Linked DNA regions of Homo sapiens: regions 1, 2, 4 and 5 are each linked to region 3. Evidence: promoter capture Hi-C in 16 types of primary human blood cells and fetal thymus (Javierre and others, 2016). All regions are on one chromosome and are shown on one strand. The core of a region is centred on a gene start or on the middle of the fragment in contact, and the rest is flanking DNA. Distances in the headings are between cores, read along the strand shown. Region 1 has its middle 16 kb from the start of PBDC1. Region 2 has its middle 75 kb from the start of PBDC1. Region 3 holds the start of ABCB7 (ATP binding cassette subfamily B member 7). Region 4 holds the start of CHIC1 (cysteine rich hydrophobic domain 1). Region 5 overlaps MAGEE1 (MAGE family member E1).

Region 1 (4,828 bases), core at 340-2,839, 1.0 Mb before region 3:
GAATTTCAAGCCAGTGGATCTTAGCTTGCTGGGTTCCGTGGGGGTAGGACCCACCGAGCCAGACCACTTGGATCCCTGGCTTCAGCCCCCTTTCCAGGGGAGTGAACGGTTCTGTCTTGCTGGCGTTCCAGGTGCCACTGGGGTATGAAAAACTTCTGCGGCTAGCTCAGTGTCTGCCCAAATGGCCGCCCAGTTTTGTGCTGGAAACCCAGGGCCTTGGTGGTGTGGGCACCAGAGTGAATCTCCTGGTCTGTGGGTTGCCAAGACTGTGGGAAAAGCACAGTATCTGGGCCTAAGTGCAAAGTACAGTCCCTAATGACTTCCCTTGGCTAGGAGAGGGAGCTCCCGGACCCCTTGCGCTTCCCTGGTGAGGCAACACCCCACTCTGCTTTGGCTCACCCTCCTTGGGCTGCACCCACTGTTCAACCAGTCCCAGTGAGATGAACTGGGTACCTTAGTGGGAAATGTAAAAATCACCCACCTTCTGCATTGATCTCGCTGGGAGCTGCAGACTGGAGGTGTTCTTATTTGGCCATCTTGCCAGCCAGGGCTCCAGTGTTCCTTATTTCTTACATACGCTATATACCCCATGAAATTTGTCATTTAATCCCCCATATTTGTTGATCGCCTACTCAGAGCTATGTCCATATGTGTCTAAGACCTAGACATGTAGTGATGAAAAATGCACAGTACCCTCTTATAATGCACTCATCCTAGTGAGATATATTGTTATACTAAAACTGACCATTACCAAAAAAAAAAAAAAGACAGTAGTAATTATAATGATAGTGATTCCAAGGAATAGCACAGTGGCTGACACATATTAGAGGAGTGCCATGACTTTTTGTTGCATGAATGGATTAATGACAATACATTCAAAGCATTACTGGAAGACAAAGACATGAAAACTATCCTGTGACCATGCTGGAAGGCGCTTGACTCCTGAAGTGAATACATCTTAAGGTTAAGGTTAAAATCTCCTGACACATTAAGTTCCCATGAAAACCTTAGCAATTGCCACTTTTGATTGAATGTCTTCCATAGGTAAGGGTACAGAAATAATTATTGTTAACTGCTGAGTATGGATCACATAAGACTCAGACTGTCCCATACCAGTCTGTGTTAGTATATGAGTATGTGTGTGCACATATGTACATATGCATGTGCATGAATGCATTTAAGAAAAAGAGTGGGTCGGGTGTGGTGGTTCATGCCTGTAATCCCAGCAGTTTGGGAGGCCAGGATGGGTGGATCGCTTGAGCTCAGGAGTTCGAGACCAGCCTGGGCAACAGGGCAAAACTCCGTCTCTACTAACAATACAAAAAATTAGCTGGGCGTGGTGGTTCCAGCTACGTGGGAGGCTGAGGCGGGAGGATCACCTGAGCCTGGGAGGTGGAGGTTGCAGTGAACCAAGATCATGCCACTGCACTTCAGCCTGGGTGACAGAGTGAGACCCAATCTCAAAAAAAAAAAAAAAAAAAAAAAGAGAGAGAGAGAGAGAAAAGAAAAAGAAAAAGAGTGACACCTCTCCAACTATACCAGGGGCAGTACAAATGATCTGGAATCAGGATAGATTTAAATTCACCTCCTCCTTGGAAGTTACCAACCTTACTCTCATAGTTTCAGGGCCATGATGGTTTGTGGTTAAAGTTATGTCATCTTTTATTTCGGAGGTAACTGAGTTTTATTATCTATGTGAACTTAGGCAAGTCTCTTAAATGCAGAGTCTTGGCTTCTTCACTTTGAAAGTGAAGATTACAGACACATTTGACTTATGTGCTTATTTCAATGATGGAATTATATAAGACATGAATGTATGAGCTCTTAGCACAGGGACTAGAATACAGCAAATGCTCAGTAAATTATAGATTATTCAGAATGCCATGGACTTTCCAGACATAGCTCAGGTTTAAGCTCTAAGATTATTTTCTGCAAAGGTTATTTTGCTCCACATCTGCTAAGGGAGATACCTAGGTTGAGCATGGGGGAGAAATAGGCATATGTTAGCCCTAGTACTTGTGGGTCCAGCTGCAACTCCTTGATACTGTGGTGAGTTGGGGCTATCACACTGGATGTGCACTGACCTCAGACATGCCCATCTCTTTGCAGTGCATCATAGGCTTTCCCCAAGGGAAGTTCTGAAAGCCCCACTCAGAAAGCACAACACCAGGATGTTATAGACAAGACTTTGAACTTTAGAGGCAGGTAGCTCTGGATTTTAAAGAGGAAAATGAACTGAGCCCATGCTTTTTCTCTATATATCGTCCCTGTTTTCTCCTTCCCTTCATTGGCTTTGTTTACTCTGTCTCAATGCTTCCTTTCTTCCTTCTTTCTTGTTTTACTTTCTTATAGTCACAGAGCAATTTTTCATAGAAACATAAAACATTTTTAAATACTATTAACACTTGGTAATTCAAGCCCCATCTTTAAATTTTCTCAGCTAGAAATGTAGAAAAGTTTCTGCCTCCGTTGTGCTTTTTTTCTAACTAATCAGAACAATTTGGTCATTTAGGAATTGGACTAATTTTTCACTCAGAATTGTCTGAAACTTTTCTCACACCCATAATTCAGATCTCCTTTGTCATTCCATTCCATTCTCAGGTAAGGATATGGCACTGTATGTCAGAATATAACATCAAGCCTTCCTCTGTCTAAGCCTGGTGATAACATTGGTGGCCATCACACCCTGGCTGGGGCTACTAAGCATATTGCTGCAGAGCTCACTAGGTGAGCAGCCAGAGGAGAGATAGGAATGAGAGTAGTGATGAGCTTTTCCTGCTAACTTGGTATTTACTCTGTTCTGATTCAGACACATCTACAGGATAATTCAGGGCTCTGGACCAAGGAATAACCAGACATCTCTAAGAATGGCTCCTTGGTGCTGGTGGCACAAGAGTAACCTTTGTTTTGACCACCGGCCCACCAGTTGCACTGACCAACTGCTTTCAGATGGAGTTATTTAGGCTGTGCCAAGTGACTTGCACTGTTTCTGAACTCATAAATATAACTTGCAGCCCTCACTGGATTCATATTTGATCCCATGGGAGCTGGGCAAAGGAGACACACCTGAGAAGGCAATGTAGTCCTCTCTTCAAAATCACCACTTTCCTCAAATAGCCACAGTGTTACGTAGTTGGCCAAGCTGAGCTTCCCGGATATTACTTCCTAAGGATGTCATTTTCTAGTACCCTTTTTAGTCCCCAAATCAAAGAGTTATCTGATAGAAAAGAAATAGTATCTCACCATGATTAAAATTTTTATTACCTGATTAACTTTGATATTAAGTATCTTTTTCTGTGAAAGATGGGTGGGCGAAAGAAAACAGGAAAGTCATTTATGATAGTAACCACACATACCCAACAATACCTGAAATGTAGCAAGTGACACCATTTAATATCATCATAGTAGCATGCATACAACATTATTTTACTCCCATAGAAAAGAGTCAATTGGGAAGTAAACTAAAGAACTAAGAGTCATTATACATTGGTTGTAGAATTATGGCAACTTTTTCATTTATTGTGAAAACCTTCCCCTACTTTCCAAGTTTTCTCAAGTAAGGATTTCAAGTGCATATGGTGGGTTAAATATAACAACAAAATCTGGAATGAAGGGCTGGCATTACTGGTGAGAAAAGATTGAGTAAGCTGGCTCCAGAAGCATTGCCTGAGGGCATTCACTGAGGTAAAAGGAAGCAAGGGAAGCTTTCTGGGCCTTAACACTGAAATGCAGATAATTATTTATGATCTTTAATCTATCTTTACCCCAAGGCCACCTGGTGCACCTGTACACTGATGAAATCCTATAATGTGTATACAAGAAGGCTGCATTTCTAAGGGGTTACTTGTTGGAAAATTTTTACTTGACAAGGGCGGTTTTCAAGTGGTTCTATAAATGAGCCCAATAGGCAGGATTTTTCTTTCCTTTTATTTTTTCTTTCTTTATTTTATTTTATTTTACATTAAGTTCTGGGATACCTGTGCAGAACATGCAGGTTTGTGATATGGTATACATGTGCCATGGTGGTTTGCTGCACCCATCAACCCCTTGTCTAGGTGTTAAGCCCCGCATGCATTAGGTATTTGTCCTAATGCTCTCCCTCCCCTTGTCCCCCACCCCCGACAGGCCCTGGTGCATGATATTCCACTCGCTGTGTCCATGTGTTCTCATTGTTCAACTCCCACTTATGAGTGAGAACATGCGGTGTTTGGTTTTCTGTTCCTGTGTTAGTTTGCTGAGAATGATGGCTTCCAGCTTCATCCATGTTCCTGCAAAGGACATGAACCCATTCTTTTTTATGGCTGCATAGTATTCCATAGCATGTATGTGCCACATTTTCTTTATCCAGTCTATCATTGATGGGCATTTGGGTTGGTTCCAAGTCTTTGCTATTGTGAACAGTGCCGCAATAAACAAACGTGTGCATGTGTCTTTATAGTAGAATGATTTATAATCCTTTGGGTGTATACTCAGTAATGGGATGCCTGTGTCAAATGGTATTTCTGGTTCTAGATCCTTGAGGAATTGCCACATTGTCTTCCACAATGGTTAAACTAATGTACACTCCCATCAACAGTGGAAAAGCGTTCCTATTTCTCCATAGCCTCACCAGCATGTGTTGCTTCTTGACTTTTTAATGATCGCCATTCTAAGTGGCGTGAGATAATATCTCATTGTGGTTTGATTTGCATTTCTCTAATGACCAGTGGTGATGAGCTTTTTTTCATATGTTCGTTGGCTGCATAAATGTCTTCTTTTGAGAAGTGTCTGTTCATATCCTTTTCCCACTTTTTGATGGAGTTGTTTTTTTCTTTTAAATTTGTTTAAG
Region 2 (4,465 bases), core at 643-3,142, 1.1 Mb before region 3:
CATCTTGCCCAGGTTGAGGAGGGCTATCCAATTAATTCCACTTCTTGTGGGACTCGACATCAGAGCCAGTACAGGAGCAGAAATTGCTGGAGTCACACATGCCTCCTAAACCTATAGCCAACTCTCAACAGAAATAGCCAACAGTATTGATGCCATGGCTAAAACCTTAGCAGCCATGCAAGAAAAAATTGACTCTTTCACAGCCATGGTCCTCTAGAAATGCCAAGAGCCATATATGTTAATGGTAGCACAGGGAAGAATTTGTTTAACCTTAGATGAAAAATGTTGTTTCTGGGTAAATCAATTAGGAAAAATGCAAGACAGCATCAGACAACTCAAAAATCAAGCCTCCCATTTATGAGAACAATTTATGAGAAATTAAGAAGGAACCTGAAATGGTTTTTCTGGACTTTTCCCTTTTTAGGCCATCTTTTCATTCTATTACTTTTGCTCCTTTTTGGTCCATATCTTCTCAATCTAATAACCCAATTTTTCTCCTCTTGCATTCAAGCTGTCAAGCTCCAGAAGATCATCAGTGAAGGATAAGTAAAGGATACTGTCCTCTCAATACTCACGAGTCAGCCTTCTATAGGGGACCACTGGATTGCCCATCAGCGGAATATGACAGAGGCAAAACCCTACCTGTGTTCATTGAACCTGGTTGGGCACCACTGTTGCTGGCCTATGGAGCCACCCTTCCCTGACAACTAGCAAGAGTCTGAGACCCATGGGCCAAACACTGCCCCTCTGTCAGCAAGAAGCAGTTACAGAAGACTGACCTTCACCCATTATCCCAAAGAATTGGGTCTCAGACTTTTGAAGGCAGAATGTTAGAGTAGGTAGTTATACAGATATGAGCAGAGTGGGAGAGGGCCCTGCCAAAATGGCAGGCACTCACTGGCTGATAACCGGGTGATTATACAACTTCTTCTTCTAGGATAATAAGTGAGGGCCCTAGAAATGTAGGCACTCATTAGATGATGGTTAGGCAATCATAAAACTGTTTCTCTGAAATGATAAGTGGCCACGACTGGCACTAAGCGGTAGAGAAGTTCCCAAAGGATAGGAGATATCTGGAGCCAGCAAACCACAATTCCTTGATAAGGTCTTAAATATGCACAGTAGGGGGCAAAATGACCAAGTTTGACTGGTATATGGCCTTCCTCTGGGGGCACTCGATCAGTAAAAGAAATGCCCCAAGTGAGCATGGGCACAACCTCAGTAAACACACTGCACATGTGGCCCCTCGAAAGTGATGACAGGTCACTGTTCATGAATCAAAGAAATATCCCAGCCCAAGGGAGGGATAAATCAAGGGAATAGAAAAGAAAACCTGGAACCAATACAGGATATAAAAATCCCAAGCCACAGACTGAGCATGGCACTTGATCTCTCAAGTTCCTCTCTTGGCCATCTTCCAAATGTACTTTGCTTCTTTTAACAAAACTCTGCCTCTGCTTTAAAATTTGCCTCCATCTCTCAGTTGAACTCTTTTTTCTAAGAAGACAAGGGCTGGAATTGCTGTGGAAATGCCACCAGTTGCAGACCCATCGCTGGTAACACACCCAACACTGAAGCACCCAGATATGTGAAAATCGAGCAAGATATAATTAGAGCTAAAGAGAAATATAGAGTCCAATACAATAATACAATAATAGTTAGAGACTTCAATGCCTCACTTTCAGCACTGGACAGATCTTTCAGACAAAAAAATGTACAAAGAAATATCAGACTTCATTTGAACTATAGAACAAATGGATCTAATGATTTACAGATATTTCATGCAATGGCTACAAAATACACATTCTTTGCCTCAACACATTAATCATTCTCAAGGATAGACCATATGTTAGGTTATAAAACAAGTCTTAAAACATTTTAAAAAAGTGAAATAATATTAAGCATATTCTCTGACCACAACGGAATAAAACTAGAAATTAATAAGAAGAGCAACTTTGAAAACTATGAAAATACATAAAAATTAAACAATATGCTCCTGAATTACCAGGGCATCAATGAGGGAATTTAGAAAAAAAAATGAAAAAATTATTAAAGGAAATGATAATGGAAATAAAACATACCAAAATCTATGGGATACAGCAAAAGTTGTATTAAGATGAAAATTTATAGCTATAAGTGGCAACATCAAAAAAAGAAAAACTTCAAAGTAGCAATTTAGTGATACATCTTAAAGAACTAGAAAAGCAAGAGCAAACAAAATATGAAGTTAGTAGAAGAAAAGAAATAATAAATATCAGAGCAGAAATAAATAAAATTAAATGAAAAAATACAAAACATCAATGAAACAAAAAGTTTGTTTTTTTAAAAAGCTAAACAAAATTGAAAAATCTTTAGCCAGATTAACAAAGAAAAAAAGAAAGAAGATCCAAGTAAATAAAATCAGACATGAAAAAGGAGACATTACAGCAGATACTGCAGAAATTCAAAAATCACTAGTGGCTACTATGAACCAATCATTAGTGGCTACTATAAGCCAATAAATTTGAAAACCTAGAAGAAATTGACAAATTTCTAGACACATACAACATACCTAGATTGAACAAGAAAGAAATCCAAAACCTGAAAAGACCAACAACAAGTAACAAGATCGAAGCCATAATAATAAGTTTTTGAGTAAAGAGAAGCCCAGGACCAAATGACTTAACTGCTGAATTCTACCAAACATTTAAAGAACTAATACCAATTGTACTCAAACCATTCCAAGAAATAGAGGAGAGAATACTTCCAAACTCATTCTATAAGCCAATGTTATCCTGATACAAAAACCAAAGACACATGGAATAAAGGAAATTACAGGCCAATATCACTGATGAATATTGATGCAAAAATCTTCAACAAAATATGAGCAAGTGGAATTCAAAATACGTTAGTTAGATTATCACTGGGAAGAGGGATTTATTCTCAGGATGTCAGAACGGTTCAACATATGCAAATCAATGTAATACATCATATCAAATGAAGGATAAAACCATATGATCATTTTAATTGATGCTGAAAAACCATTTGATAAAATCAAATGCCCTTTTATAATAAAAACCCTAAAAAAACTTGGTATAGAAGGAATATACTTCAACGTAATAAAAGGCATATATGACAGACCCACAGTTAGTGTTATCCTGAATGGGGAAAAACTGAAAGCCTTTCCTCTAAGATCTGGAACACAAGGATGCCCACTTGCACCACTGTTATTCAAAATAGTATTGAAAGTTCAAGCTGCAAAATCAGACAAGAGAATGAAATGAAAGGTATCCAAATTGAAAGGAAAGGAGTCATATTTTCCTTATTTGCAAAAGATATAATCTTATATTTGAAAAAACCTAAAGACTCAACAAAAAACTATTAGGACTGATAATTTCAGTTAAGTTAGAGGATACAAAACTAATTTACAAAAATCAGTAGCATTTCTATAGTCCAACAGTGAACAATCTGAAACACAAATTTAAAAACTACACAATAGAATACTATGCATCCATAAAGACGATGGCAATCCTGTTATTTGCGACAATGTGGATGAACTGGAGGGCATTATCTTAAATCAAATAAGCCAAATACAGAAAGAAAAATACTACATGATCTTATTCATATGTGGAATCTTAAAAAGTTGAGAGTAGAATGGTGGTTACCAAAGGCAGGGGTATTTAGCAGGGAGTGGGAATTTGAGAGATGGTGGCCAAAGAATGCGTAGCTATAGTTACATAAAAGAAATAAGTTCAAGAGATCTACTGTGCAACGTGGTCACTATAGTGGTGATGATATATTGTATTTTTAAAAAACACACAAGAATTGAATGTTAAGGGATCTCACCACAAAAATTTTGACTATGTGAGGTGATGCATTTGTCGATTGCCTGGATTTAACCATTTTACAGTATATGTATATACTTAAATGTCATGCTGCACATAATAAATACATACAAATTAATCTGTCAATTTAAATAAATGCATAAAAATGTTGAGAACCTTAAATAATAATAAGCCTTCTCATATATTGAGACAAGATTCTGGAAGAGAGTAAGGGGAAAACAGATATAACTAGGGAGTTTAACTTTGAATTGACCAGTGAAACAATAAGGAACACTTCTGAGAAAAGGCTGAGAAGCCATTATTCACAGTTACTCTCCCCACTTTATCTTCCCCAGAGGAAAACTGGGACTCTAAAATAAAATGTGGCCACTTTGCCGAAAATGAAAAGTTATATTTTCTTTGTACAACTGGGTGCTCGTAGGAGTTAATCTGGGGACCTTAACCAGAATCTATATAAAGTGTCTATCTAAAACATGAGCGGATGATAACTGTGCTAAGTTAGCACAAAGGGAAAAATATGTATGACAGCACCCAGGATAAGCAGCAAAAGCAATACTGTTAATTAGAACATTTTCTTAAACAATAAATTTCTGAAAGGTTAAACCTTAAATTCCTCAGTAGAAAGCATTTGTATTTTTACA
Region 3 (4,835 bases), core at 1,852-4,351:
TTTAGCTTTTCTTTATGTTGGGAACATTCTCTTTCTTCCAAATGTGGTGTACATACACAATAAAATATTGTTCAGCCATAAAACAATGAAATCCTGTCATTTGCAGCAACATTGATGGAACTGAAGGTCATCATGCTAAGTGAAATAAGCCAGGTACAAAAAGACAAATACCACATGTTCTCACTCATATGTGGGAGCTAAAAAAGTATATCTCATGAAGGTAGAGGGTAGAATAGTGGTTATCAGAAGGTAAGAAGAGCAGAAGGGAGGGGACAATGAAAAGAGGTTGGTCAATGGGTACAAAAATGTAGTTAGAAGGAGTAATATCTAGTGTTCTATAGTACAGTAGGGCAGGTGACTATAGTTAACAACAACTTACTGTATAGTTCAAAATAGCTAAAAAAGATTCTGCAGTTCTAACAACCTCTCAAGTAATGCCAATGCTAGTGGTCCATGGATCACATTGGAATAGCAAGATTTTAAGGGAAATAACACAAGGCAATGGTGATACAGAGTGGTGGGGACAGGGGGTGGCCTCTTCAGATAAGGTTCTCTTGGAAAGCTTCTCTAAGCAGGTGACATTTGTTTTGAGACCTGAAAGATAAGAAAAAGTCATTTAAAAATCTACAGGAAAGATATTCCTGGTAGAGGGGAAAGCAAGTGGAAAGGTCCTGAGGTGAGAATAAGTTCTGGTATTTTTTAGAAACAGAAGACCACTGTGGCCTTCTTAAATTGCTCAAGTGTTTCTTCCACATTTCAGGTGTTATTAAGTGAAAAGAGCACTATGTTTGGAGTCATAAAACCTAGGTTTGGTCTCCATCCCATTAGCTCTGTGGCCTCTGACCTAGTCACAACTTTTCTTAGCCTCAGTTTCCTCATAAATATGGGCATATTAATAAATAATACCTATCTTCCATGGTCGATGTGAGGACTAAATGAAATAAGGTATGACAAAGCGGATTGTAAGTTACAAAATACTATACACATTTAATTATTGCATACATAAAGTGCTATCATGTGATCTGTGGTTGTAGCAGCTATTTATAGCAGCTTTTATTGTGTATACCTCTGTCTCTTTAATTTATGTCAGACAGTTATGTGTCAAGTTATTACAGGCTGAGTTGGCCTTTTTGTTGCTGCTCTTCCCCAGCAGTGTGCAACTCTTATTATGCCTCACGTTCTATTTCTGGGTGCCCTGGAAATTTTCTTCGGCTTATTTGGCAAATAAATATTTGCCTCACTTTAGCTCATCATAGAGTAACAACTTGGGTATTTCAATGTTATTCACACTTTTTGATCAAAACAGTTGGCTTACAATGAGCACTACTTTTGGAAAAAAATAATTTGGCTCCATTCAAAGACTTTACAACTGGGTGGTAAGATTCAGTGGCAATATTCAGCCCTAAGAGAAATCATTAGTAGAGTCTAGAGTTTCTCTAATGTATACTGTAGCTGTCTAACACAGAATAGATGCTGAATAAATATTTGTTGATGACAATATAGTCATTAATATGAAGCCATTACTGATCTACTGTCAACAATACAATAATAAGCTAGAAACATCCAATTAGTCACTAAGTCTTGCCAATTCCATCTCCTAATTGCCCTGCAATCGATCTACTGCCACTGCTACTGCTAGGTTGAGGCCTTTATTTTATGACTGAACTATTGCATTAACTTCATGACTTCAATATGAACTCCGTCCAATCCAACCTTCTCACTTAAGCCAGAGTAGCTTAATGGACATATAAATCTGATCATGTTACTCTCCTGATTAAAACTCTTCACTGGTTATAGGATAAAGTATTAACTTCTTAGAATGAAATAGAAGGCCCTTTACCATCAGGTCTCTGTTCACTCAGGTTAACCTCCTACTACTTTCCCAAACTCCATAGACTCCTGAACCTGAAAATATTTTCTTATGCCTTCTTGCTTTTAACATGTCATCTTCTTTACGTGTAATTCCAGTCAACCTCTTCAACTTGAATTCTATTTTTCTTTAAATAACTAGCTCAAGCATCCCCTTGAATGAATCCCAGAACAAAAAAGCTAACTGCATGGGCTACAGATTTCTGTTTTTCTTTATCAGACTTACTAGTCCAAAGTACCTCTTCATAAGAAGTCCATAATTATTTGTCTCTTTTGTGTGAAAAGTTGGAGAATGCAGCAGTGAATATAAAATTGCAACTGCATTATTGTCTCCGGGGTTTCAGGTAACATTTACAACTGGAAATGCAGTTTCCTAGATAACTGTAAACATATTTTGACATTTTGTTTGATAATAGTGGTGACAAAAGAATATAAGCCTGTCTTTAAACATGGTCTTCTCTCCATACATTTCACTTTACCACCCTTCAGCCAACCTAAGCGATTTTTCAAGAATTAGGGACGCTGCAAAAACCAAAGCGAAGAGCTAGAAAGAGTGACAAAATTAGTAAAGATGTCTGTAGTCTCTCTGTGTGTGTGTGTGTGTGTGTGTGTGTGAGACTGTCCCACGAGCAACAGACCAAAGGAAAACTGCCCCAAGGTTTGCGCAACAGAGAACAATCAGCAAAGTTAAAGTCCTTACAGGACAGAAAAGCAGTAAATCTTACAGCTGAAGCCTCCTCCCAGGGGAAATTAACGTCTGTAGTTTAATCTTTCCTTAATTCAGAAGGGAGTGAAGATAAGAATATGCATAGGGAAAATGGAGAGAGGGGAGCGTGACATTGAGTTGGAGGAGGTAAGAGAGTATTATGAGAGACAAGATGGGGTTGACAGATTTAGCAGATACAATATTTGGGACACACGCACGAAGAGATGATTCGTTGTTTATGTAAAATTGAAACTTAACTAGGTAGGCATCCTGTATTTCATCTGGCAACTCCAGGAAAAGAGAAAAATACAGTGTTACTCCAATATTCCCGGTTGTGTAAGGAAAACAATCAAAGCTCGGCCCTAAGGAAAAACAAATAAAAGAGGCTGTGCGAATGCATCCGAATCTTCAAACAGAATCCATTTCCGGTCTGGGGCCCTGGGAAAACAAGAAGAGGAGAGACAATTAAGGTAGCCGAATTCAGTCCGCCAGTGTCCCATAATCCTCTTCTCTCGGTTCCTCTTTCCTCGCTCAAGATGGCGCTGCTCGCGATGCATTCTTGGCGCTGGGCGGCCGCGGCGGCTGCTTTCGAAAAGCGCCGGCACTCCGCGATTCTGATCCGGCCTTTAGTCTCTGTTAGCGGCTCAGGTCCGCAGTGGAGGCCACATCAACTCGGCGCCTTGGGAACCGCTCGAGCCTACCAGGTGAGATGCCACTGACATGGAAGAATAGGGTGAAGGGCAAGGGGACCTGTAGGGAAAAGGTTGCCCTCCTGACCTCGGGGCAGAGAGAGCACCAAGAAGAAAGTCATGGCTAACTGGGAGCAGCAGTAAGTGAAGGAAATTAACGTCAGTAATTTGAGGAAAGGGCGAAGAAGAAAACCTTTGAGTTCAGCAAAGGGAAACGGGGCAGGAGGTTCTGGGCAGAGGACACCTGGAGCGCTGGAGGCTCTCGGAGTCATAGTTTTTCTCTCATATTAAGAGTTGGGGTAGACACCATTCCCAGCCTGCTTGCCTTTCTAAAGACGAGGAAGACTGGATTATTTTCCCCAATTAGTAATGGAATTTGGGACAGTTTATCTGTGGTTCAGATTTTACTCAGTTGGAATTAGCAATTCGGAGAGCACTGTAATGACAGCAAGCTATCTATAAACAGGTGGCGCCAGTTAACTCCCTTGCTGACAGGCGTGCTTCTTGATAGGCCAAAACCGTAACTATCTTTCCAAAACATAGACCGCCCTAAATTCTTGTATAAATATGACTGTCCTAGATCTGAAAAATACAGTGATGTTCTCTGTGCACAGGTCATTTTGGAAGCCATAGGCTACTTATCCTTAACTTATGAATGTAGCTATGGTTGTAGTGCCTCCTAAAATTTGAGTCCATTATTACCTCTCACTCAGGAACGGTTTTTTAAAAAATTATTTGTACTTAACTGTACTAAAGTATATCTTTTTATTTTCTGTGTATTGACAAGAGGTTTAATTGCCACCACGTATTTATCACTATCACTTTAAAATATTGTCAGTTTTGTATGAGAAACAACCTCTTAAATTTTGATTCTTCATCTACAAATATTTAACGTCTACCTTGTACATAGCCCTGTGCTAGATGATAGGGTACTAAGAGAGACATACAGTTATGCCTTCAAGGATTGTACAGTTTAGTTAAGGAGATTGGATCTATGCATTACAAAAATAACTGAAAAACACAGTGGTGGGTTAATTAGCAAATGAATAGTATGTACAATAAAGGCTATAGGCATCCAGAGGAAATAGTGATAATTAAGGACCAGGTTATAAAGAGTATTTCATGCTGGTGATAGAACTGGGGAGAATGTTCTGAACAGGGAGAATAGGGAATGACACTAAGCATGTGGAAGGCTGATGGAATGACATTTATAATTCATTCAGTAATTATTGAACACCTCTACAGGAGCAAACAAAATATAAGTCCTGTCTTTAAAGAGCTTAAAATCTAGTGGGAAATATGTAAATTAATCGGCAATTAAAATATAGTGGAGCTGTGTAATAATGGGAAAGGTACAAGGTATGGGACAGTATATGTGAGGGGTATTAAGTCTAATTGTAAGGTAGTGAAGATTGCCTTAAGTAACTGATATCTAAGGCAAGAGCTGAAAAATTAGAAGTTAGCCAGTTAAAGAAGGAATCGCATGTGCAAAGGCCCACAAGTCAGAGAGAACATGGACCTTTTCTAGAACTGCACGTAGTTTAGACTGTAGTGAGTCATTCAAGATAGGA
Region 4 (4,453 bases), core at 459-2,958, 1.6 Mb after region 3:
GAATTGCTTGAACCTGGGAGGCAGAGGCTGCAGTGAGCCAAGATTGCGCCACTGCACTCCAGCCTGGGCAAAAGAGTGAGACTCTGTCTCAAAAAAAAAAAAAAAAAAAAAAACTCAACATGTTAAAAATTGAAGCTAATATAAGGGAGGTAGCATATATATGATTTAATGTAACATGAACTCAATTGAAAGTCAAAGGGACTAGGTGAGCCATTATCAAAACCAGAGGCAGCATGACATAACAACAAAAGGCAACCTATTTTGAAAATGCAGTAAAAGATAGCATAGTTCAGAGGATGAACATGACACAGTACTCAAACTTCCAAATAGTTATGGTCCAAGCAAATAAAAATGAGGAAGCACTCTTTAAATCCCGGAGAATCATCAACATTTTTGCCTTGTAGCTGTTATGAAGTCCCTCCCCATTTTATTTTCTGAAATATTCAATTTTTCCTCAAGATTTCAATTTTTTAAAAAACCACCCTGGATAAATTTTAAAGAAATTATGCTCAGCTCCCAAAGTATTAATTTCCATATATATTTAATGCCTGTATATTTCATACTTGGGCATACAAAATCCCTTGGAGGTAAATTATCTCAGAACTGAAAAGCTTTAGAAACCATCTACTCCAAACCCTTCATTTTAGAGATGAAGAAATCAAGGCGCAGAAATGAGAAAAAGCAACCTGACCAAGGTCACAGGGCCAGTAAGAAGCAAAACCGGGACCAGCGTCTAAGAGCCCTGACTCAATCCATTTCTTTTTCTACTTTCCATAGCTGCCTCTCATCCTGAACCTCTAATCGAGTGATATATAAGGAAGGATTCGATAGGAAGAATGGATGGATGAATACGTGGGTGAATGAACATTCTATTATTATTCACAAAATATATCATGTTTCTGTTTTGAAGAATGCAAGCCTAGTTCTTGTCACATGTCACAGCAATTGCTGTTTCCCACAAAGTATCAATCTTGTCAGCAAAAAACCCTCTGGTACATCCTGCAGTTTAGAGACTGTTCACTTGCCAGCATACATACAAGAAAGGAGACTCACCCCTACTCCAATCGCTCTGGCTCCCAAACCCCTAACTTCCCTCTCCTATACTCACTCTTTACCTGGCATTGGTGCATCATATTTACATTCTCCTCACTTCCTTCACACGTATCCACCCATGGTTTCCCCATTTAGACCAGGTGTCCTTTCCTAAGTGTACGCCTCAGTCAATCAGTCAACCCTCCCCCACTCCACAGGCCCCTCGATCACTTCTCATTCCTCTGTTGCCAAATCTCAGGCATTTCAAGTCCCAAGACCCCCTCTCGCTTACACAGTGATGTGGCCGGCACCCCGCACTAATACAGGGTCGGGAGCATATCTCCGCAGATGCTCCTCGCTCACTACCCGAGGCGGGGGCGGCGCTTCCTCCTCCTCTTCCTCCTCCTCCTCTTCTTCCTCCTCCTCCTCTTCCTCCTCTTCCTCCTCATCCTCCTCGTCATCGTCGGGCCCAGATACCGACGACGACGACGACGGCGACGACGACGACGTTGCCGCTTCTTCTTCCTCCTCCTCCTCCAGTTCCGAGATGGTGTCGAACTCCGCCATGTTGGGCAGCAGGATGCTCATCACGTGACCTCGCGATCGCCGCCACGCTCCCGGAGAAGAGTTTGAACCTGCCGAGGTGCTGCAAGAGGAGGGGGAACGAAATGAAGAGAAAGAGGAGGGGTGTAGGGACAGGATTTGAGGAGACGCGCCTGCGTGTTGGGCAGACGGGGGGGTGGGGGGGCGGCTGCTGGAGGCGGGGGCACTAGAGAGGAGCAAAGTCAGTGTACGCTTGCGCAGCTCCAAGGGGAGGGGGCCGCTAGAGGTGAACTCCAAGGAGTTATCCAGGTCCGGTCTGCGGGTGCTCGCCTTAATACTGCTCTCTGAGCGTCAGCTACTTGTATTCGGGGTATCTTCTGATTTTATTGCTTATTAATTAATGCTGGGCATTATTAACCCAACTGCAGGCGGGTGAGAGAAAGCATATTGTATAAAAGTAAGGTTAGAACTTTGTCCAAAATATCTCAAGGTATATACCAATCCCTTACGTTTGTTCAGCATTACAGTTTAAAAGCCTTGCGTCATAACTTTGCCACAATCTTGGGAGGCAGGGTAAGCACTTTTATTAGCATTTTACTTAAGAGGAAACTTTTTACTACTTCTCCTATGTAATACTTAACGGAGGACTTATTAACTCAGGGACTGTGCTAAGTGCTCTGTATGTATATCTCATTTAATCCTCTGCAACCCTATGAGGTATGTATCATGATGATTTTATATTACAGATGGGAAATCTAGGTGCAGAGAAAATAAGTAATTTGTCCAGTGTCAGGGAGCTACTAAATGGGAGACCTGGTTTTAAATTTGGTGGTCTCTTCTGATTCCAGAAGCCCAGTACTCTTAACCAAAGGGCTGTACTGCCTGAAGTTGTTTGGAAAGATTTTGTAGAATGGTGCCTCTTGGGCTCTTCCTTAAAAGATGAATCAGAATATGCATGTTTGAATTTTGGAGTGTTTTTTGGGGGAGGGGGCGGATGGAGGGGGTGAAAGGAGCATTCCAACCTAAGGAAACCTTAATTAACATCATCCATTTTCCAGACACTGAGCTAGACCCTCACATACAATATTTCAGTTAACCCTTAATCCTGAGAGGTAAGTATCATTATATCTATTTTATTACATGACAAAAGTGGGTCTCAGAAGTTTAAGTAATTTATTCAAGTCTATGGTGACCTTTTGTTCAAAATTTTCCATTTTAAATGGTCTATCCTATCTTCTTTACACTCACTAAAATGTTGTGGGGATCACATATTTTGCGTATCTAAATAGTGTGCCAAACTGTTTCATACTTGGCAGCAGCACAAAAATCCATATCATTAAGACAGTAAAGTCACACAGCTGCTAAGTAACAGAACAAACACTGTAATCCAGGCATTCTAATACCAGCTTCACTGCTCTTTCTGCTACTCTACGGCTGCATCCCAATCAGATGGTGTGTCTCTGGGGAAACAGACATAGTCAAACTTTAATTTAGGATGAGCACGACATTATCAGTATAAACAAAGCATTTAATGTGTGTGAAGTAGGAAGAAATTAGTTCTGTAAGAGAAATGAATCAAACCATTATCATCAAGGAGTATGTGTTATTAAAATGAAAAGCCCATTTTTATTCAAAAGTTGGTTTATTTAGGGAACTTTAAAAATAAGTCGGAGATCGAGACCATCCTGGCTAACAAGGTGAAACCCCGTCTCTACTAAAAATACAAAAAAAATTAGCCGGGCGCGGTGGCGGGCGCCTGTAGTCCCAGCTACTCGGGAGGCTGAGGCAGGAGAATGGCGTGAACCCGGGAAGCGGAGCTTGCAGTGAGCCGAGATTGCGCCACTGCAGTCCGCAGTCCCGCCTGGGCGACAGAGCGAGACTCCGTCTCAAAAAAAAAAAAAAAAAAGTCATAACATTATCAATAAGCAACAAATTATAACTTTTTGTAGTTTAGATAACTGTATCTACTAGCCAGGAATTATAGAAGATAGAACCTTAAAATATTTTGTATAGCCTTCTGGCAAGACATATATATCTTTGCTTTTTTGGGGTGTTAATAAATGTGTCAGAGTTAAGATCAAAATTAATACTTTGCAACAGTTCTTCTCTTTCAAGAGGCAAAAAAAAAAAACTGTAAATGACATTTAAAATTTTTCCAAATATCTTATCCACGAAGGTCCACTAAGTCTGTGTCTAGAGGGAAAAGTATTTCACTGACTACTGCTTAAATGGTAGTTTCTCCTCACACTCAAGATTAGGCTAGGAAAGGCTATTTGAAGTACAGGAAGGGAAAGGAGTAGGGGGTGGACTTTGTAATGAGTGCAAGTAAGATATTGGAACTATGGTAAAAGTGGAGAAATTATGGCCTTGAAGAATGAGAAGGAAGGAAAGGGATGGGGAAAATCTGTTAAAATAGAAAGAGGCCCCTCATGTTTAGTCAGATGTCAAAAAGACCAAACATTCAGGGAAGTGCTATACTTGGCTAAACACACAAGTGTAGTCAAATCTGTCCATCTGTTTTCTGGCTTATATGTTGTGATTAAAAGTCATATGTGATTCCAAAGGTAATTTGTTTTGCTTAAATATAGGAGAATTTGGAATTAAGCAAGCTGAAGAAAAATACATTTTGTTTATCTATTGTCAGTAAACACGAGTAACACCATGGTTTCTAAATGATACCTTAGTATTAAGAATAGTAAATCGAGGAGTAGATGGAGAAGAAAGCAGGTCATGTAACATTATGCCTAACTTGCTAAGTGGGGTATGGGGGTATTTCTCCCATATAATTAATAGAGACCTGAGGCATGAGATCATTAACCATCTGAGAGGGTTTCAACCTTAAACAGCTGAAAAGAATTGTAACCTTTTAAAGACAGCT
Region 5 (4,393 bases), core at 51-2,550, 1.3 Mb before region 3:
TTTTTAATCAATTTTGATGAGTCATCATCTGAGATATGTGGATAACCTAGAGAACTTTAGCAGTTACTTAGATTAGATTAAGTGGCTACATAACTTCTTAGGCAAAAGGGGAAATCTTACAGAACCATTCATTGGCAAGATTGAATAACAATGTGAAGACAATCACCAGAGTCCCACCCATGATTTCTCTCTACATAAAGAGAAGAGACTTCTCCTGTGAAGTTTAGAAGCTTTTCCATTCCACCACAGATGAGTACAGCAATTAGTCAGTCACATTGACTGTAGCTCTTTGCAGGGTTTGACACAAGTCAATGATCATTACCTTAACGCAGAATGACAAGATCCTTTTTTAAAAAATAGTACACATTCATGTAATCATGAGAGCACGACCCTCCACTGAACACATGGAATCTTGAAACAAAAGCTTGCATCCTAATCTAACAGGTGCATTTGAACAAAGACATTTAATCAGACATTTTCTGAGACCAAAATGGTTACTTTTGAGAGAAATGCATGAAAAAAAACGTATTTTCTTCCTTGGTTGTCTTTAGTGGGATATTCTGAATGTTTGTGCATGTTGGTCAAGTTTATCTGAGAGAAAAATAGTTCGCAATATTTAAATGACAAACAACCAAGAAACTTGCTTAGGTAACATCTTCTGGCAACAATTGGATAACACACAAGTCTACTAAGAAACATGAAAAGAATAGAGAACTAATACAGAACTTAAGAAGTAAATGAAGCTCTATTATCAGAGCCTCTCTCTCAGGAAGGTTGTGCGAAGAGTAAAACGATTCAGTGATGTGGGTGTTATATCCCAGGCAGAACAATAAGAATATATGTAATCTTTACAGATTTTTTAAAAAAAATATTAGTAATGATATAAGAAGATATGTAATTCTTTTAGATTATAACAATAGTAATAGTGATAATAACAAGGAGGAGAAGGTGGGAAGAGGAAAGGGGAAAGAGATGAGGATGATGAAGAAGAGAAAGAAGAAGAAGAGGAAGAATTATTATTAAAGAGTAGGAGGGGAGGGGAAGGAAACCAATAAAAACAGCAACAACTGTAGTGGAGATTGTGATGTATCACCCAGATGCTCCTACTCTTCAGGATCACATTACTCATTCCTCCAGCTCTTGAGGGTGATGACAGCTGCTGTGTTTACAGCTGAGTACCTTTCTCAGGGATTACTCTCAGCTGAAAAGAACTGACTCTCAAAAAGTCATAGCCCCTTACCAGGAGGCAGTTTGCATCCAACGACTGGTGAGTATGGTGGGATAAAACTTTGGCCTCTTTTTCCTAATTTGGGACAACTCTGCAGGACCACACCAACTCCAGAGCTCCCTGTGGAATCAGTTAATTTATTTGCTGTGACTGAATCACTGCTCGACTTCTCTTTCTACACAATTCTGCTTCTCTTGCTCCCCACACCTGTTGAACCCAAAACAACTCCCCAGTAAAATTTCTGCAAGGAAATCACTCACAGTCTCATTCCTGGAAAAAATCAACATGCAACAATATCACTTATATATTGCTAACTACATGTCAAGTGCTCTTGTGTTTTACATGTTAACACATTTAATCCCCAACATTATGGCGTAGGTGAAATTATTATGCCCATTTTACAGATGAAAAAATGGAGGCACAAAGGAGTTAAGTAACTTGCCTGAGTTCTCATCTCTAGTATCAGAGAGAGCCAGGGTTTGTACCCAGGCACTTTGACTCTAGACTACATGCTCTTACTACTATGTTCTAATGCCTTTTAACCTTGATACCACGGAGTTTGATTTCCAAGGTGTTTTTTAAAAGATAACAGGCTTTCTGACTTCAATTTCTTTAAATTTGATTTTGTTCAGAAAATAACACCTCTTTTCATAGGTACATTAAGAAGAAATTACTATGCTAAAATTAGAGTTTCTGCCCTCCCCACCCCCTTTAGTTTTTCAATATGAGAGCCAAAAGAATCCTGTCAAAACTAAGTGGTTTCCTGCCATCGCTCAGATCAAAAGCCTTAAATAGTTTTCCATCTCACTCACAACTAAAGCCAAATTCTTATATGGTAGACTAATTTTTTATTCAAAAATATATGTTCTTCCTCTCTACTGGGCCCATTCCTATATGTTCTTCCCTGTAGAAGGAGTACACTTCCCAGCTCATTGACATCAAGCTTGCCCATGTGACTTGCTTTTGCCAATGGATTATGACTACAATATGCCATATATGAGCATAGGCTTTGAAAACTATCACATGGTTCCACTATGGCTCTTTTACTTCTGCCACAAGAACAGGTGTCCCATATATGATTTACTCCTTTAGCCTGGTTACCTGAAGGAAGACAATATAAACAGAATCACAGACAGCCCATGAAAGGGATGTAAAATGAGCCCAAAATTTTGTTGTTGTAAGCCTCTGAGATTTGGGTATTTTTTAAAAACCCACAGCATAACTTAGAGAAAGCTGGCTCATGTATCTTATTGAAACCATTGATGACACAATATATCCTGCTCTCTGGCCTTACATCTTTGACTTTTTTTCCTACCAGCACACATAAAGACTGAAATCCAGCCTTGAATCAGTTTAATTCATGATTGTATTAGGGACCCCATCTTGGCTGGGCACGGTGGCTCACGCCTGTAATCTCAGCACTTTGGGAGGCTGAGGTGGACAGATCACGAGGTCAGGAGTTTGAGACCAGCCTGGCCAAAATAGTGAAACCCCGTCTCTACTAAAAATACAAAAATTAGCTGGGTGTGATGGCACTTGCCTGTAGTCCCAGCTACTCTGGAGGCTGAGGCAGGAGAATTTCTTGAACCCAGGAGGCAGAGGTTGCAGTGAGCCGAGATCATGCCACTGCACTCTAGCCTGGGCAACAGAGCGAGACTCTGTCTCAAAAAAAAAAAAAAAAAAAAAGACCCCATCTTGTCCCCACCCCACATACCCAACAGCTTCCTTAAGGACCACCCTGAACACCCCAGGAATTGGTCAGTTGTGCCTCTTTTTAACTACCATAGCACTCTCTATTTTTCTATTGTAGCACATAGTACACCATAATAAATTGGTGATTTAAATGACCTCCCCCTGTACCCTATCCAGCCTCTGAATTCTTGGGCAGGTACTATATCTTGTAAACTTTTATACTTCTATAACTAGGGCACACCACTGTGCTCACTGTATGAAAGCAGTTGAATAAGTCAGTGTATTAGCATTATGTTTCATTTATTAATCTTTTATTTTTCATTACATTTTAGTACAGCAAAGCAAATACAGGTAAACATCAGTATTCTTCATACAATAGCAGACAGAAAGGGAAGCCAGCCACAATTTAGAGTGCCTTTTCAGTTGTTGTTATATTTGTTTGTTAGTTTATCACTTTAAGCTAGATTATTTTACTGGCGAATTTTTTTCAAGCTTTCAAGGAAAAGCCTATATCTATAGCTATATGCTATATTCTTTTCTAGATAATGCAACAAGATGGAAAGATTTCCAAAACATTTTATAGAGCTATCAAAACTCATACCAAAATACAACAGAGACAGCAAGTGGTCAATCACATTTACCCAATCAGACAATATATTAAAACAGTTGAAACATTTCCAGACACCACACCAGAACTAAATATGAAAAGACATAAATATAACTGGAACACAAATACCAAATACAATATGTACCCACCCCCACCCCCCAATACATGAGAACTGAGGCTCAAAGGCCCCTCCTTGCAAGGCCCCTCTGACTGCCATGCATTCCTCTACCTGAAGTTGTGAACAAAGATTTGCCTGTGCCCAACATCAGCTCTATTGGCCTCATCTTCCATTGCCTCCCTGTACTGCTGTGGCCAGTCCTGTGGTTCCTTTCTGTGGATTCTGGCCACATATCGCAAGGCTTTCATCTTAGAGGTTTCCAAACGGGCTCTAGGACCCCATACAAACTCATATTGCACTGGATCACTGTCAGGAACCCGTAAACTGTCTATATAGCGCTGACTCAAGTATCTGCAGGTAATCACATGCTTTCTCCCAGCTTGAACCCCTAAGCCCCGCAGAAAGGCCCAGACTGCAGACTCCCTGGCATGGTTGCCCATAATAAAGATGAAGCTTAGGACCTGCATCAAAAAGTTGTTGCCAGGCCTGTTTGGACTGTCTACGATCTCCTCAGTTTCTTCCATCTCCCTTCGGTTGTACAGAGTATAGGAGTGATTCCTGGGATCAAGTACCACTAGTTCTGTCCCATAGACATGGTTCAGGGTGCGGGCAGCACGATTCAGGAGGTCAGGGAACACTTTGCTGCACTCTCGGCCAATGTAGTACAGAATTCCTTTCTTTGGTATAGGCAGCTTAGTTGAATCCATAAGCAGAAATAACTGCACCAGCTTCCTTGCCTTGCTCTCCA

What was found. Contacts are between HindIII fragments. The CHiCAGO score rates a contact against its expected background, and 5 or more counts as called.
Region 1: a fragment that was not itself captured here is called in contact with the fragment with the promoter of ABCB7 in region 3 in 2 of 17 cell types (total CD4 T cells and naive CD8 T cells); the score reaches 5.5 in total CD4 T cells.
Region 2: a fragment that was not itself captured here is called in contact with the fragment with the promoter of ABCB7 in region 3 in 2 of 17 cell types (M2 macrophages and total CD8 T cells); the score reaches 5.5 in M2 macrophages.
Region 4: a contact is called between the fragment with the promoter of CHIC1 here and the fragment with the promoter of ABCB7 in region 3, in 4 of 17 cell types (total B cells, naive B cells, non-activated CD4 T cells and 1 more). The highest score is 6.9, in total B cells.
Region 5: a fragment that was not itself captured here is called in contact with the fragment with the promoter of ABCB7 in region 3 in 1 of 17 cell types (total B cells); the score reaches 5.2 in total B cells.

Annotation. Positions count from the first base shown.
Region 1 is chrX:76,154,744-76,159,571 of GRCh38, reverse strand. No RefSeq gene overlaps it. Among named protein-coding and RNA genes, the nearest start is that of PBDC1, 16 kb to the left of the region's middle. The HindIII fragment of the contact is 4,234 bases long and covers 1-3,706 here.
Region 2 is chrX:76,246,305-76,250,769 of GRCh38, reverse strand. It overlaps the pseudogene LOC100533728. Among named protein-coding and RNA genes, the nearest start is that of PBDC1, 75 kb to the right of the region's middle. The HindIII fragment of the contact is 6,792 bases long and covers 1-4,465 here.
Region 3 is chrX:75,154,549-75,159,383 of GRCh38, reverse strand. ABCB7 (ATP binding cassette subfamily B member 7) reads left to right here and starts at 3,101. Exons shown (of 16, transcript NM_001271696.3): 1 at 3,101-3,279. The coding sequence starts at 3,112. It also overlaps a transcript of UPRT not described here. RefSeq lists an enhancer at 2,991-3,420. The HindIII fragment of the contact is 6,846 bases long and covers 565-4,835 here.
Region 4 is chrX:73,560,452-73,564,904 of GRCh38, reverse strand. CHIC1 (cysteine rich hydrophobic domain 1) reads right to left here and starts at 1,708. Exons shown (of 6, transcript NM_001039840.4): 1 at 1,325-1,708. The coding sequence starts at 1,620. It also overlaps the pseudogene MAP2K4P1. RefSeq lists a silencer at 1,729-1,788. The HindIII fragment of the contact is 6,151 bases long and covers 614-4,453 here.
Region 5 is chrX:76,430,164-76,434,556 of GRCh38, reverse strand. MAGEE1 (MAGE family member E1) reads right to left here. Exons shown (of 1, transcript NM_020932.3): 1 at 3,215-4,393. The coding sequence ends at 3,753. Among named protein-coding and RNA genes, the nearest start is that of MAGEE1, 4.6 kb to the right of the region's middle. The HindIII fragment of the contact is 1,747 bases long and covers 427-2,173 here.